2 separate regions of the Homo sapiens genome follow, and region 2 is linked to region 1. The links are contacts of gene promoters, found by promoter capture Hi-C in human tissues and cell types (Jung and others, 2019). All regions are on one chromosome and are shown on one strand. The core of a region is centred on a gene start or on the middle of the fragment in contact, and the rest is flanking DNA. Distances in the headings are between cores, read along the strand shown.

What was found. Contacts are between HindIII fragments. The study calls those that stand out against the background at their distance.
Region 2: a contact is called between the fragment with the promoter of IGDCC3 here and a fragment that was not itself captured in region 1, in 1 of the 25 tissues and cell types used here (hippocampus).

Annotation. Positions count from the first base shown.
Region 1 is chr15:65,858,023-65,865,414 of GRCh38, forward strand. It overlaps LOC105370866 (a long non-coding RNA gene), which reads left to right. Exons shown (of 3, transcript XR_932372.2): 3 at 1,597-2,461. Among named protein-coding and RNA genes, the nearest start is that of TRQ-CTG1-4, 7.4 kb to the right of the region's middle. RefSeq lists enhancers at 1-65, 126-205 and a silencer at 5,268-5,317. The HindIII fragment of the contact is 3,934 bases long and covers 1,159-5,092 here.
Region 2 is chr15:65,375,558-65,382,949 of GRCh38, forward strand. IGDCC3 (immunoglobulin superfamily DCC subclass member 3) reads right to left here and starts at 2,445. Exons shown (of 14, transcript NM_004884.4): 1 at 2,129-2,445. The coding sequence starts at 2,231. It overlaps IGDCC4 (immunoglobulin superfamily DCC subclass member 4), which reads right to left. Exons shown (of 20, transcript NM_020962.3): 20 at 5,927-7,392. The HindIII fragment of the contact is 8,726 bases long and covers 1-4,997 here.

The DNA.
Region 1 (7,392 bases), core at 1,876-4,375:
TTTCTTGCTTGGATTCTTATAACAACCTCCCAACTGGTCTCCCTGCTTCCATCCTTCTCCTCCTACAATGTTTTCAACAGAGCAGCCAGATTTTTCCTTTTAAAATGTAGGTCAGATCATGTCACTCCTCTGCTCAAAACCTTCTCATGTTTCACCAGTTTACTCAGAGTACAAGCCTTACAGTGGCCCATGAGGCCCTTCAAGATCTGGCTTCTTTACTTCTCTGACCCATCTCCTACTTCTGCTTTTATTTATAGTACCTGCTCTAATCCACCTCCCTGGTCCGTTTACAGACCACGCACTTGCTAGACAAGCTTCTGCCTTAGGGTCTTCACATTAGCTATTCCACCTGCCTGCGTATTTTTCCCCTAGATAATCGGTGTGATTCATTCCCTCACCTCCTTTAAATCTTTGCTCAAATGTACCTTCTAGTGAGGCTGCCTTGACTACTCTATTTTGAACTGCAAGTCACTACCCACCTCTCTACTGCTCTGAACTCTTATTTCCTTTTACCCTGTTCTACTTTAAAAAAGTCATAACAGGGCCGGGCGTGGTGGCTCAGGCCTGTAATCCCAGCACTTTGGGAGGCTGAGGTGGGCGGATCACCTGAGGTCAGGAGTTCAAGACCAGCCTGGCCAACAAGGTGAAACCCCATCTCTACAAAAACACAAAAATTAGCCGGGCATGGTGGCACGCACCTGTAATCCCAGCTACACGGGAGGCTGAGGCGGGAGAATCACTTGAACTGGGGAGGTGGAGGTTCCAGTGAGCCGAGATAGCACCATTGTACACTGTACTCCAGCCTGGGTGACAGAGCAAGACTCCACCTCAAAAAAAAAAAAAAAAAAAGATCAGAACAGTTGTCATCTTCTAATGTAATACATAACTTACTTATGTATTATGTTGATTGTGGTCTATAACCACACCACCCTGCTAGAATGTTTGCTCCATGAGGCAAGGATTTCTTTTTCTTTCTTTTCTTCCTTCCTTAATTTCCTTCCTTCCTTCCTTCCTTCCTTCTTTTCTCTCTCTCTTCTCTCCCTCTTTCTCTCTCTTCTCTCCCTCTTTCTCTTTCTTTCTCTTTCTTTCTTTCTCTCTCTAACCCTCCCCCCCGCTTTCTTTTTTTGTTTTTTTTTTTGACATGGTCTCACTCTGTGGCGCAGCTGGAGTGCAGTGGTGTGAACTTGCTCATTGCAACCTTTGCCCCCAAGGCTCAAGCGATCCTCCTACCTCAGCCACCCGAGTAGCTGGGGCCACAGGGATGCACCACGATGCCCGGCTATTTTTTTGTATTTTTAGCAGGGCCAGAGTCTCGCCATGTTGCCCAGGCTGGTCTCGAACTCCTGAGCTCAAGCGATCCACCCACCTTGGCCTCTCAAAGTGCTGAGATTACAGGCATGAGCCACTGTGCCCAGTCTAAGGCAAGGATTTCTGTCTGTATCCCTAGTAAACAGTGCCCAGCACATAGTAGGTACTCAATAAACATTGTTACATAAATGGTGATTCTGTTAGGTGCAAGTATCTAATTACTTCATTATGTCTTCTATTACACTTGTGCTCAAGCATTTACTTTTTTTTTTTTTTTTTTTTTTGTAGAGACGAGGTCTTACTACCATAGCCCAGGCTGGGCTCAACTGATCCTCCTGCCTCAGCCTCCCAAAGTGCTGGGATTACAGGTGTGAGCCACCACGCCCGCCATCAAGCATTTACTTATTGAAACACATATCTTTTTATAATGCATTATTTTCTTATTTATCCTTTATACTTATAGCATTATATTGATTTTTAAAGTGTGTGCACTCACCTATGCAGCACTCAAAAGGTTCTCTAAAATGATGGTTGACATCTTTCTTCAACTCTGGTGTTTTCCTATGTAACTTTTTCTAAGTGTAATATGTACTCAACAACTAAAATAGGATGTATGATATGTACATGCCTGCATGGGCATACAAAGACACACATACACATATATAAAATAAAGAAAACACTAAAATATCAGCAAGCTTGACTCCCAACTTAAAATTATGTGTGCAGGAAGGTATATCATAAGATAAGATCTATTGATGTCAGGATGGTAAAGACAGTGTTATGAAACGTTTGTTACAATATCAGGGTTTGGATGTTAGGATTGAGAACCTCAGGGTTAGATAATTCCAGAAGCCACTCCTGGAGCTGTGGGTAGGGATAATCCCACCCAAACTGCCTGGCTGTTTTCTGGATGGAAGGGGTGGGGTGGTGCTGGGGAGGAAACCACAATGTTGGCAGCCAGGAGGAAACAAACTTCACTTTCCAAGTTTACTGTACTTCTATATTGTTTGTGTTATTTGACTATTTTACAATGACTGTTCATTCCTTTTGTAACAAGCAAGACCAGTAAAGCTTTTTTTATTTTAAAATCTCCTATAAAATATAGAAAACAGATAAACAAAATAATAAAAATCACCTGTAATCCTATTCTGCAGAAATAACCACTGCTAACATTTTATTTTTATAACCTTTTGTTTTCAGGCATGTGTGGACTTACATAGATATTTCAATGATGGCTCTGAATAATAGGAATCATGCAGTTGGAGGTGTCATTTGTTAAGATTATTCTGGCAGCCACCAGCATGTTGGATTGAAGTGGGAGAAAACTGAGGGTAGGGTTAGGTTGTAACCAAACAGTGGAGAAGGAAATCACACCAGAGTGGTGGCTATGGGAATGGAAAGAAACATACCAAGAGATATTGTAAAGAAAGGAACCATGGGCTGGGCACAGTGGCTCATGCCTGTAATCCCAGCACTTTGGGAGGCCAAGGCAGGTGGATCACAAGGTCAGGAGATCGAGACCATCCTGGCTAACACAGTGAAACCCCGTCTTTACTAAAAATACAAAAAATTAGCTGGGCGGTGTGGCACGTGCCTGTAATCCCAGCAACTCGGGAGGCTGAGGCAGGAGAATTACTTGAACCCGGGTGGCGGAGGTTGCTGTGAGCCGAGATCGTGCCACTGCACTCCAGCCTGGGTGACAGAACAAGACTCCATCTCAAAAAAAAAAAAAAAAAAAAAAAAAAGGAAAGGAACCATGTAGGTGACTTAGTGGTTAGTGTGTATGAGAGTAGTGATAATGATTTTTGGCATCTGAGTATTCCAATCTTGCATTCAAGAATATCAAAGATGAGGGAGGACTTTCTGTTTTTGTGCTCTCCTTTTTCTTTCTTGATCTTGCTCTCTCTTTCCAGAAAACAATACAGAGCACCTGTTTAAAATGTGAAATTTGATGAGTTTTGAGATATGTATACACCTGTGAAACCATTAGCACAATAAAGATAATGAACATATCCATTATCCCTGCAAGTGTCAGCTGGGCTCAGTGGCTCACACCTGTAATCCCAGCACTTTGGGAGGCTGAGGCGGGCAGATCGCTTGAGCCCAGGAGTTTGAGACAAGGCTGAGCAATAGAGGGAGACCCCTGTCTCTACAAACATTACAAAAAAATTATCTGGGTGGGGTGGCATGTGCCTGTAGTCCCAGATACTTAGGAGGCTGGTGTGGGGAGGATCACTTGAGACTGGGAGGTCAAGGCTGCATTGAATCGTGATCTTGCCGCTGACTCCAGCCTGGGCAACAAACCCAGACCCTGTCTCCAAAAAGTCTTCATACCTTGTAATCCTTCCTGTCTTTCTCTACTCTGTCCCCAGACAACTACCAATCTGCTTTCTGCTTTCTGTCACCATAAGTCAGTTTGCATTCTGTAGACTTTATATAAATGAAATAATACAATATGTACTCTTTTTTCCCCCTCTGGCTTCTTTCACTCAGCATGATTATTTTCAGATTCATTCACATTGTTATGTTTATCAGTAGTTGATTCTTTTTTGTTAATGAATAATAGTCTATTGTGTGGATTTACCAAAATTTGCTTCCCCATTCACCTGTTTATGGACATTTGGGCTTTCAGTTTTTTCTATTGCAAATAAGACTGCTATCCGAGAATCGCTTGAACACAGGAGGCAGAGGCTTCGGTGAGCTGAGATTGTACCACTGCACTCCAGCCTGGGTGACAGAATGATACTCTGTCTCAAAAAAAAATTTTTTTAAAAAAGTCTGCTATGAACATTTGCATACAGCTTTTTGTGTGGGTATATACTTTCATTTCTTTTGGGTAAATACCTAGGGGTGGATCGATGAAGTTGCACAGTAATTATTCCCCTGTTCTAAGCCTTGGCTCCACATCTAGAAGTGTCATCTTTGTATCTTTATCTTTTTTATTTCTTTTTTTTTTTTGAGAAGGAGTCTCACTCTGTTGCCCAGGCTGGAGTGCCCTGGCGCAATCTTGGCTCACTGCAACCTCCGCTGCTCGGGTTCAAGTGATTCTCCTGCCTCAGCCTCCCGAGTACCTAGGATTACAGGTGCCCACCACCATGCCTGCTAATTGTTGTATTTTTAGTAGAGACGGGGTTTACCCATGTTGACCAGGCTGGTCTTGAACTCCTGACCTCAGGTGATCCTCCCACCTTGGCCTCCCAAAGTGTTGGGATTACAGGTGTGAGCCACCACACCTAGCCTAAGAAGTATCAGCTTTATCTTCTTTTTGCTCACCTGACAATTTAATATTGTGGTATTTTTGTTTTTACATTACCAAAAGGTCTAGTATTTTCTAAATAAATGATTGAGAAACAAAAATGAGACTCTACTAGTTTTTTTCTCCTCCTTTGAGTGAGCATAGTTCTTATCCACATGGGAGAATGCAGGAACATGATGGAGTCCCACAGAGCCAAGGCCAGTTCACTCCTCTAGGAGGCAGTAGTAAACACACAGCCATATACAGAGGCACATGGTGGGGGTGTGGGGAAAGGGGAGGAGCTGGCAATCAGTACGTAGCTAAAGAAATGACTCTGTGGTGGGATTTCAGAGGCCAATGGAGGTGTCTTTTCTGGGCTGGGTGTGGTCAAGGGTGAACAAGCTGATTTTGGTCTTGAAAGCCAGCCAGTCCACAGGAATTCTGGGAGACTGTCAGGAAAGAGGCAAACAGCCCCCAGAGAGACAGGGATCTTGTGAAGACTAAGGACCTCACAGGAGCCTGTCCCAGTCTTGCACCACTATCAGCCCCTTCATCCTAACCTTCTGTTTTTTGTCTTTATTATGATAAAATCTGAGATTTAAGTTCCTTTTAGTTTTCTTTGTGGTAAAATACACATAACAAAATTTACCATTTTAGCCATTTAAGTGTATAATTCAGTGACATTAGGTACATTTGCAATGCTGTGCAACCATCACCACTACCTCTTTTCTTTTCTTTTGAGATGGTCTCGCTCTGTCACCCAGGCTAGAGTGCAGTGGTGCGATCTTGGCTGACTGCAACCTCTGCCTCCTGTGTTCAAGCAATTCTCGTGCCTCAGCCACCTGAGTAGCTGGGATCACAGGCATGCGCCATCACATCAGCTAATTTTTGTATTTTTAGTAGTGATGGGGTTTTGCCGTGTTGGCCAGGGGTCTCGAACTCCAGACCTCAAGCAATCCTCCTGCTTTGGCCTCCCAATGTGCTGGGATCGCAGGCTTAAGCCACCACACCTGGCCTAGTACATTTATTTGTAAATATGTATATTTTATCACTTTTTTCTTTAAGACTAGCTGATACTTTAGTTACTACAAACAAATAATCAGGCCAGGTGTGGTGGCTCATGCCTGTAATCCCAGCACTTTGGGAGGGTGAGACAGGTGGATCACCAGAGGTCAAGAGGTCGAGACCAGCCTGGTCAACATGGCGAAACCCTGTCTCTACTAAAAATACAAAAATTAGCTGGGCGTGGTAGCATGTGCCTGTAATTCCAGCTACTCGGGAGGCTGAGGCAGGAGAATCGCTTGAACCTGAGAGGCAGAGGTTGCAGTGAGCCAAGATCACTCCACTGCACTCCAGCCTGGGGTGACAGAGCAAGACTGTCTCAAACAAACAAACAAAAACCCAGCCAATCAAAGCTGAGAATTTTCCTGATCATGTACACAATTTGTCACCTCATAATATACTATATATAATATGGTATTATATAGATTCTAATATATATAATATGGTATTATATAGATTCTGATATATATAATATGGTATTATATAGATTCTTATATAATATGGTGTTATATAGATTCTGATATATATAATATGGTGTTATATAGATTCTGATATATATAATATGGTGTTATATAGATTCTGATATATATAATATGGTGTTATATAGATTCTGATATATATAATATGGTGTTATATAGATTCTGATATATATAATATGGTGTTATATAGATTCTGATATATATAATATGGTGTTATATAGATTCTGATATATATAATATGGTGTTATATAGATTCTGATATATATAATATGGTGTTATATAGATTCTGATATATATAATATGGTGTTATATAGATTCTAATATATAATATGGTGTTATATAGATTCTAATATATATAATATGGTGTTATATAGATTCTAATATATATAATATGGTATATATAGATTCTAATATATATAATATGGTATATATAGATTCTAATATATATAATATGGTATATATAGATTCTAATATATATAATATGGTATTATATAGATTCTAATATATATAATATGGTATTATAGATTCTAATATATATTCTATATAATATAAAAGATAAAAAAGACAAAAGACAAATTTCACCTCTTTTTAAATTTTTTACTTATTTTTATTTTATTGGAGACAGGGTCTCGCTCTGTTGCCCAGGCTGGAGTGCAGTCATGCAATCACAGCTCACTGCAGCCTTGACTTCCCTGGGCTCAGGCTATTCTCCTACCTCAGCCTCCCAAGCAGCTGAGACTACAGGTGAACGCAACCATACTTGGCTATTTTTTCTTATTTTTAGTAGAGATGGGATTTTGCCATGTTGCCCAGGCAGGTCTCAAACTCCTGAGCTTAGGCAATCTGCCTGCCTTGGCCTCCCAAATTGCTGGGATTACAGACAGGAGCCACCATGCTGGGCCAAATTTCACTTCATAAGGTTTGTCAACTTTTCTCTCTCAAAAACATTTTTGTTTTTTTTTTGGAGACAGAGTCTTGCTCTGTTGCCCAGGTTGCAGTGTGGTGGTATGATCATGGCTCATTGTAACCTTGAACTCCTCGGCTCAAGTGATCCTCCCACCTCAGCCTCCTGAGTAGCTGGGACTATAGGTACATAGGTGCCATCATGTCTGGCTAATTTCTCCATTTTTTGTAGAGATAGGGGGGGTCTCGCTAGGTTGCCTAGGCTGGTCTTGAACTCCTGGCATCAAGTGATACTCCTACCTTGGCCTCCCAGGCACAAGCCACCATGCCCCATCTAAAAATTGTATTGTGAAATAAACCTAATACTATTACAAAAGTGCATAAAACTGGTATGTAGAGTTTAAC
Region 2 (7,392 bases), core at 1,195-3,694, 480 kb before region 1:
ACTTTATGCATTACAAAGTGCCATCCAAGGCGGTACTTTACTTAATCATCAGACCATCTCAGAGATAGATATTATTTGTACTATTTCCTCTTTCACAGGTAAGAAAACTGAAGCCCAGAGATGTCAAGTGACTTGCCCAGGGTCTCACAGTCAGTAGTTGCAAAACTGAGACCCAAAAGCAAGACTGACTCCAATACAGATGCTGCTACTTCGATGGTCACCCTGGATAAGCACTGAAGCCTCACAGACCTTCAGGGTGTGACCTTAGGTAAAGTATTCAACATGTCCTGGATTCCCATTTCTCATCTGTTTAGATCAAAGAAGAACAATGGAGCTTGGGTCATAGGGTTGTATGACATGATTAACAGACTCAAAGGCACTATGAAAAATTTAAAGTTCTAAAGAAATACAGAGGGAGATAGTAATAAATCATGCTTCTTTTTGCTGGCCAAAACCCATCAGATGCCTGGTCCAATGCCTGGCAGGGAGCAGGGTGTGTGGTCCCAGTACCCGGGGTACAGACTAGGTTGTGGCCCCATTGCCCCTCTCCTCTGGCACTCTGGGTGTTGGTCCTTTTGCCTTTGTCATAGGGAGAGATGAAGAGTAGCAAACACCAACTATGGTTTCCCAAAACCAAGGAAGAGGGTGCTCCTAGAACCTTTACTTCCAGCCAACCTCTCTGCTCCTGCAGAAGAGAAATGAGCAGGAAAAGAAGGAGGCCAAAGAATAGATGGGGTTAAGGCCAATCAGAGAATCAGAAGCCCGGCTGGAGGGACAAGCACTCCAATCCCAGGCATGATGCCAAGTCACCAACTTCTCCAGCAAACAACTTACCAGACCAGTTACAACTCCACTCGAGGAGGAATGAACCCACCTGGTCTGAAATGGCAGTCACAGACCCCTCCTCACATTTCCAGATAACTAGCGATCCTGGAGCTGGCCCCTCCCCAGCAGACTAGGGCCCTCCCTGGCTGAGGGAGATGGGGAAATGGGTGGGGAGAAAGGAGGGGCGTTGGGGTTATAGGCATTCCCCGCCCAGCGCCCCCCGCGCCCCCCTCCCCCCGTCCCCGGCCCAGGAAGATGTAATGTTTTAAGACTTTTTAGGATCGCACTTATTCAAACCCCTGCGCATCCTCCCCATGTCGTGAGTTCACCCGTCTTAGCCCCGAATCCAACCCTGGTATAGCTGTCGGGAATAAAGTTTTTCCTTGATGCGGACGCGAGCTTCTACTTCTTGGGAGAGGAGTGGAGAGAGAATAGCCCAGATGAGTGTCTGTGGGGAACTTGAGGTGGGAGGGTTAAGGGACTAGATTTGCACTCTCCTCCCGGGAGATGGGACCATTGCAGCCACTAAAGGGAACAGAGTGGTGGTGACCGAGCTCCAGGCAGCAGAGCCGAGCTCCAGGCAGCAGAACCGGCGGACCGCGAGAGCCAGGGCAAGGTCTCCGCGTGTGCACACTTCGGGGAAGGGCAGGGGCACGTGAGCATCCCCGCGGCTCGCTCGCTCTCGCTTTCGGTGGCTTCTCCTCTCCTTCTTGGCTCACGGGCTCTGTCCCGGGTCGCTCCCTAGCCACGCGCCGCCCTCCAGGAATCTCCCTCGTCTTCTCCTGTCTCTCCCGCGCACTCCTCAGCCCAGTACCAGCTCCAAATGCAGGTCGTGCCATCTCCGCCCAGTGCAGCCGTCAGAGTCCCGGTCTCCGCTCCCCAGGCTGCTGTCCCCTGTCTTGGCTGCCTCGGGCTATGTCCACGGCCGGGCACCCAGCACCCCAGCTCGTCCGCCTCGGTCAGCGCTTAGCCTTGCGGTCTCCCCTGGCTCGTTTCCCTCGGTCTCCACGCCAGCCCGCCCCGCTTGCTCCCGCTTCGCTGCACTCCTTGCTCCTCAGTCTGGGCTCCGGGTCCTGCCCCAGTCTTCCTCCGGGGGGTTCCGTCCTCAACACGCCCCTAGGGCCCCCAGCAGTCCGGCCTTGGTACCCTCTCCCCGTCCGGATCCGCAGGGTCCCCCCCGCGCGGGGTCCGCCCTCAGGTCCGCGCCGCTCTCCCCGGGTCCGCCCCTCGCGCCCGCTCCCTCCCTGCTCGCCCTTCCCCTGGCTCCGTCCGCAACCGCCCGGTCCGGGGCGCTTTCACTCACCCTCGCTCGGCGCGGGCAGCAGCAGCAACAGCAGCGGCAGCAGGAGCCGGGGCCAGAGCGGGGCGGGCGGGCGGCGCGGAGACGCGGCGCGCTGCACAGCCATGGGGCTCTCGGTCAGCTCGGCTCGGCGACGCGCGGCTCCCGGGCCTCTCGCGGCTCACAGCGTCCCGCGGGGCCGGCGCCGGGGCCGGGGCTGGGGCTCCGGCCGGGGCCGAGCCCAGGCGGTGGGGGACTGGGGCCGCATGCCTGCTCAGCAGCGCGGGGGGCGCAGGGGGAGCGCCGCTTGCGCCATCTTGCACCCACCCGGGCGATCTGTCAGCCTCGCCCGGGGTGCGCGCTCCACACTCGCACCGCTCGCGGCCGCCCCGCCCTCCTCCCCAGCCCGCCGCCCCCCTCCTCTCTGCTCCCGGTCCCCTCCCCCAGCCCCCTCTCCCCGGAGGCCCGGTCTGGGGAACAAAAGAGCCGGCGAGCGCTTTAAGCGGCCGGACATTCCCGGCTGCGCGGCGGACGCGCCCCCTGCGCTTTGAACTGTGGCTGGAGCGGCCGGCGCCGTCCCGGGCTGCAGCCGGGTATCCCCTCCCCGCGGGCCAGCCGGGGACCTGGGGGGCTGAGGAAGTGGACACCAGCGGACTGGGGAGTGGGTCCGGGCTGCGGAAAGACACACAGCTGCGGGATTTGCTCTGACCCACTCTTTCTGCTGCGCCCTCCTCCAAGTCCATATTTTAGAGATAATTCTCTAAAAAGCTGCGTAAAGTTGTCAAAGATTCAGTTTTCCATGGATTTCTGGTCCTTCCACTCAAAGGATAGATCCTGTAGCTGCAAGCTTGGCTTCTCTGGACCGAGGAGTCCTGGCGCTCCGCTGGGGAGGATTGCCTGGAGAGAGCAGACCCAGCAGCAGGACAATGAGAGCTCTAAAGGGGCCTGGCTTCCGACCTGGGTTCTGCCTGCTGCCTAGCCCAGTCACTCTCACTGAGCTCATCTGAAAGATGAAAATAATCTTATCTCTCCTGTTCATCCCTAGAGACCTTTAAACCGCAGAGGTCCTGACAAATGACCTGGTAACTGGAAAAGCACATAGAAAGTTAAAATTCCCAGTAACGTTTCTGTGCCACAAAGAAGGCCCTCAATCGTTCATGTCAGAGAACATATAAGGAGACAACAGAGGTCCCACGTGAGAATGTTACAGAAGATAAGCATGTCTTTTAGCAGAGACATACCCATACTAGCCCTCAGAGATCTTGAATCTCAGCCACTCTCTATTAAATGGTCTTCTGTTGAGTCCAGCATGATGGACTAGTCCATCAAAATTATTGAGCAGCTACTAAGTTCTAGGAGCTAGAGAATTAAAGCTGGCAGGCTAGGCTTAGTGGCTCACACCTGTAATCCCAGCACTTTGGGAGGCCGAGGTGGGCAGATCACTTGAACCCAGGAGTTCAAAACCAGCCTGGGCAACATGGTGAAAACCTGTCTCTACAAAAAATACAAACATTAGCCAAGCATGGCGGTGCATGCCTGGAGTCCCACTGTATTCCAGCCTGGGCAACACAGACCCTGTCTCAATAAATAAATAAATAATAAAAGTTGGCCTAATGTAGCTATTTGCTCCTTTGGCACTGGACTGGGATGGCAGAGGAAAAACTAAGTCTTTCTTTTGATACCAACTCTGGAACTTTGGGACCATGTACGAAACTAACGGTGGCTCACGCCTGTAATCCCAGCACTTTGGGAAGCTGAGGCGGGTGGATTACCTGATGTCAGGAGTTCGAGACCAGCCTGACCAATGTGATGAAACACCATCTCTACTAAAAATACAAAAAAATTAGCCGGGCGTGGTGGCAGGCGCCTGTAATCCCAGCTACTCGGGAGGCTGAGGCAGGAAAATAGCTTGAACCCGGGAGGCAAACGTTGCAGTGAGCTGAGATTGCACCATTGCACTCCAGCCTGGGCGACAGAGCAAGACTCCGTCTCGAAACAAACAAACAAACAAAAAACTAACTTTGATACGGATAAGTAAGGAAGTACAGGCCTCCAGAAATCAGAGTGCCTGTAGATGGACAGGTTTACTAATGATGAGGTTGGCATAGCTCAGGACTGTTCACTCTAGGGCAGCTACTGGAAGATGAGCCTGAGAAGCAGGACATGAGGCATGTGAACAGCGGGAAGCAATGGAAAAATTCTAGGTGGAGGACTCCAATGTGCCAAAGCCCTATTGGATTTCATTGTGAGAAAGGGTGGGAGTGGTGGTCTACTGGCCTTAGGAAAGGGAGGGGAAGGGCCCTCCCTGGGCCTAAAATCCTGGAACTCCCTCCTGCAGGGCTTGAATTCTCAACAACCCCTTCTTGGCTTGTCCTGGACTCTGAAGAGGTCAAATTGGTCTCTTGAATTGCTGTCATTTTAAATTCATTTTGACAAGTGTTTAATTCTTCTTTATCACAACCCTTGGTCTGAGAGTGATATGCAAATAATGGCTATTCTGCCGAGTGCAAAATGTGCAGTATCTCTCTGTCTGATCTGTCAATTAACTCTGGGTCTGGCCCACCACTTTGGGGGTGGTCCTGAGCAAAGCAGCCTCTAGCTCTTGATTCCCTCCAATAGAAAGCATGTTCCGGGCTCTGTAAAGATCTTAGCAGACAGCAGCTGCCAACTGTGATGCCAAGATGTGTGTGGGGTGTGAGTGTGGAGTTTTGTGTGTGAGACTGTGTGCACATTTGCATTAACGGACAGACACAAGGGTGTTTGTGAAGGCAAAGTATGCATGTGCGGGTCTCTGAGCTTGTACACACAGTGCACGTGTGTGTGATTGTGTGGCCATGAGTAATTTTGGTGACCAGAGTTATACAGGAGAATAGTTGTGGAGCCCAAATCTCTGGAGTTGTTCCCTCTTTCCTGCACCCAAAAAAGTTCAGAGAAATGTGTGCCCAGATGGAAAGAGATCCCCAGAGAGTCTAAGGAAGTGCCATCAAAGGACACATCTTTCCTAAGTTTACGTCTTTTTCCTAAGTGCCTGTTGAGGGAGGAAGATGGTTTAGTTCTTTCCCATGACCACCTGCTTTTTACCCTCAAAAACCACCATTTTGAGCCGGGCGCAGGGGCTTATGCCTGTAATTCCAGCACTTTGGGAGGCCAAGGCGGGCAGATTACCTGAGGTCAGGAGTTTGAGACCAGCCTGGCTAACATGGTGAAACCCCGTCTCTACTAAAAATACAAAAATTAGCCGGGTGTGGTGGTGCATGCCTGTAATCCCAGCTATTCGGGGGGCTGAGGCAGGAGAATCACTTGAACCCGGGAGGCAGAGGTTGCAGTGAGCCGAGATCATGCCACTGCACTCCAGCCTAGGCGACAAAGTGAGATTAGTCTGAAAAAACAAACAAACAAACAAACAAACAAACAAAACACTATTTTGGGCCAAGAGGCAGTGGCTCATGCTTGTAATCGAGCACTTTTCGAAGCTGGGGCAGGAGGATGGTTTTAGCCCAGGAGTTCGAGACCAGTCTGGGTAAGATAACGAGACCACATCTCTATAACAAAAATTTTTTTTAATATTAGCCAGGCATGGTGGCATGTGCCTGTAGTCCCAGCTACTAGGGAGGCTACAGTGACAAGACTGCTTGAACCCAGGAAGTTGAGTCTGCAGTGAGCTGTGATTGTGCCACTGCACTCCAGCCTGGGCGACAGAGAGATCCCATCTCAAAAACAACAACAACATCATTTCCCATCACAGTAAGAAATAAAATCCCTAGGGCACAAAGGCTGAGGAAATTCTAGTCATGGTCAATGGTTCCAAAAGAGAATTCCACATTTCTGGAAAATAGTTTATTAATTCATTATAAGGACAGATACATGAATCAATGCCTTAGCTTAACACTAAAGAGTATCATATTTGTAAGGAGAAAAAAAAAACGCTGGAAGGATAATTAAATAGTACAGCATAAACTAAATACAGACAAATAAATGAGCAAGTACTGATTACACTTGTCATGCATCAAGAAAAGGAAGATTTTTAATTGAGACTCAGAAAACTTAAGGCATCAATGGTAGGTGACAAAGGGATTAATACCCTGTAAAAGGCCAATAGATTCTTTTCTAATAAAAATACTGCTACAAAGACACAAACCTAACACTTCCAAATTACCCAGAGCCCAAATCATATATAGTGCTAGTGAGAAATGGCCACTTTCTTATCAACTGTGAGTTATAGGCAGATACCAGATTTATTACTTATTTGCTTTTGAGAAACAATTTTCCACCCAACCTAATGGGTTATAAATTGTCTCATTTGCAGCTATTTAATTTAAACCAGAACCTCAGTGCCTGTTAAACAAGAACATGAAAAATGACTATGTGGTATAATGCTAAGAGCCTACTGTTAAAACAGCCATTTAATTCAGGGCAGTTTTTTTTTCTTCTTTAAAAAAAAAAAATCAAACCAGCAAAATAAAATGAGGCTTTTGACCTTCAGAGCAATGATGAAACATACACAGTGGTGTTAGCCACAGCAGCGCTGAATGCTACAGAAATACTACAAGTGACAATTCTGTCTTTAACGAGATACAAAACCAACATTAATAATCTTTAGTGTTATCATAGGCTGGCTGAAGGAGGGGGAGGAGGTGGAAACGTAGGTGCAGACATCAACAGTGAGTGACACCCGAGTATAATAAACACAGATGCTTTCAGGGTTTGAGGAAGCCGCAACTGTGCTGAGAGACATTCCACCATTTAAAAAAAAAAAAAAAAAAAAGGAAAAATGGACTGGTTATTTCGAATTTGGCCCAGAAGGCAGAGTTAACTCTTGATGTGCCAATCAGACATCATTAGGGAGTAAAGACCCTAACATTCTATGCTCCTATGAGAGGGCTGAGGTGAAAAACCAAATAAATGACATTGTTTTCACTACACAGAAAATAGAAGTCAAGCTTGTCCCTGTGCGGCAGGTGAACAGAAAATGACTTGAGGATTCAATTTAAAGAAAAAACAAACTGAAATGAGCTACCCCTTTTCCTGTGCAAAGACCTCCTTGCCAGCACCCCAGAGGGTGAGATTCCTGTCATCCCCAATCCAGATCAAGTCAAGCCTCACAGGGTGGGAAGGGCCTCCCTGAACTCTCACTCCCCTTCTCTTCCTTTAGCTTCTTCTGGAAGAGAGGCCCAAATCATCTCCATCCAGTAAACTTGCCCCCCTGCATAGAAGGGAGGGCATCTTTTTATTCTGAGCCTCTGGATCACAGCCCCCTTCCCTGTCTCAAACATTCCCCTCTATGACTT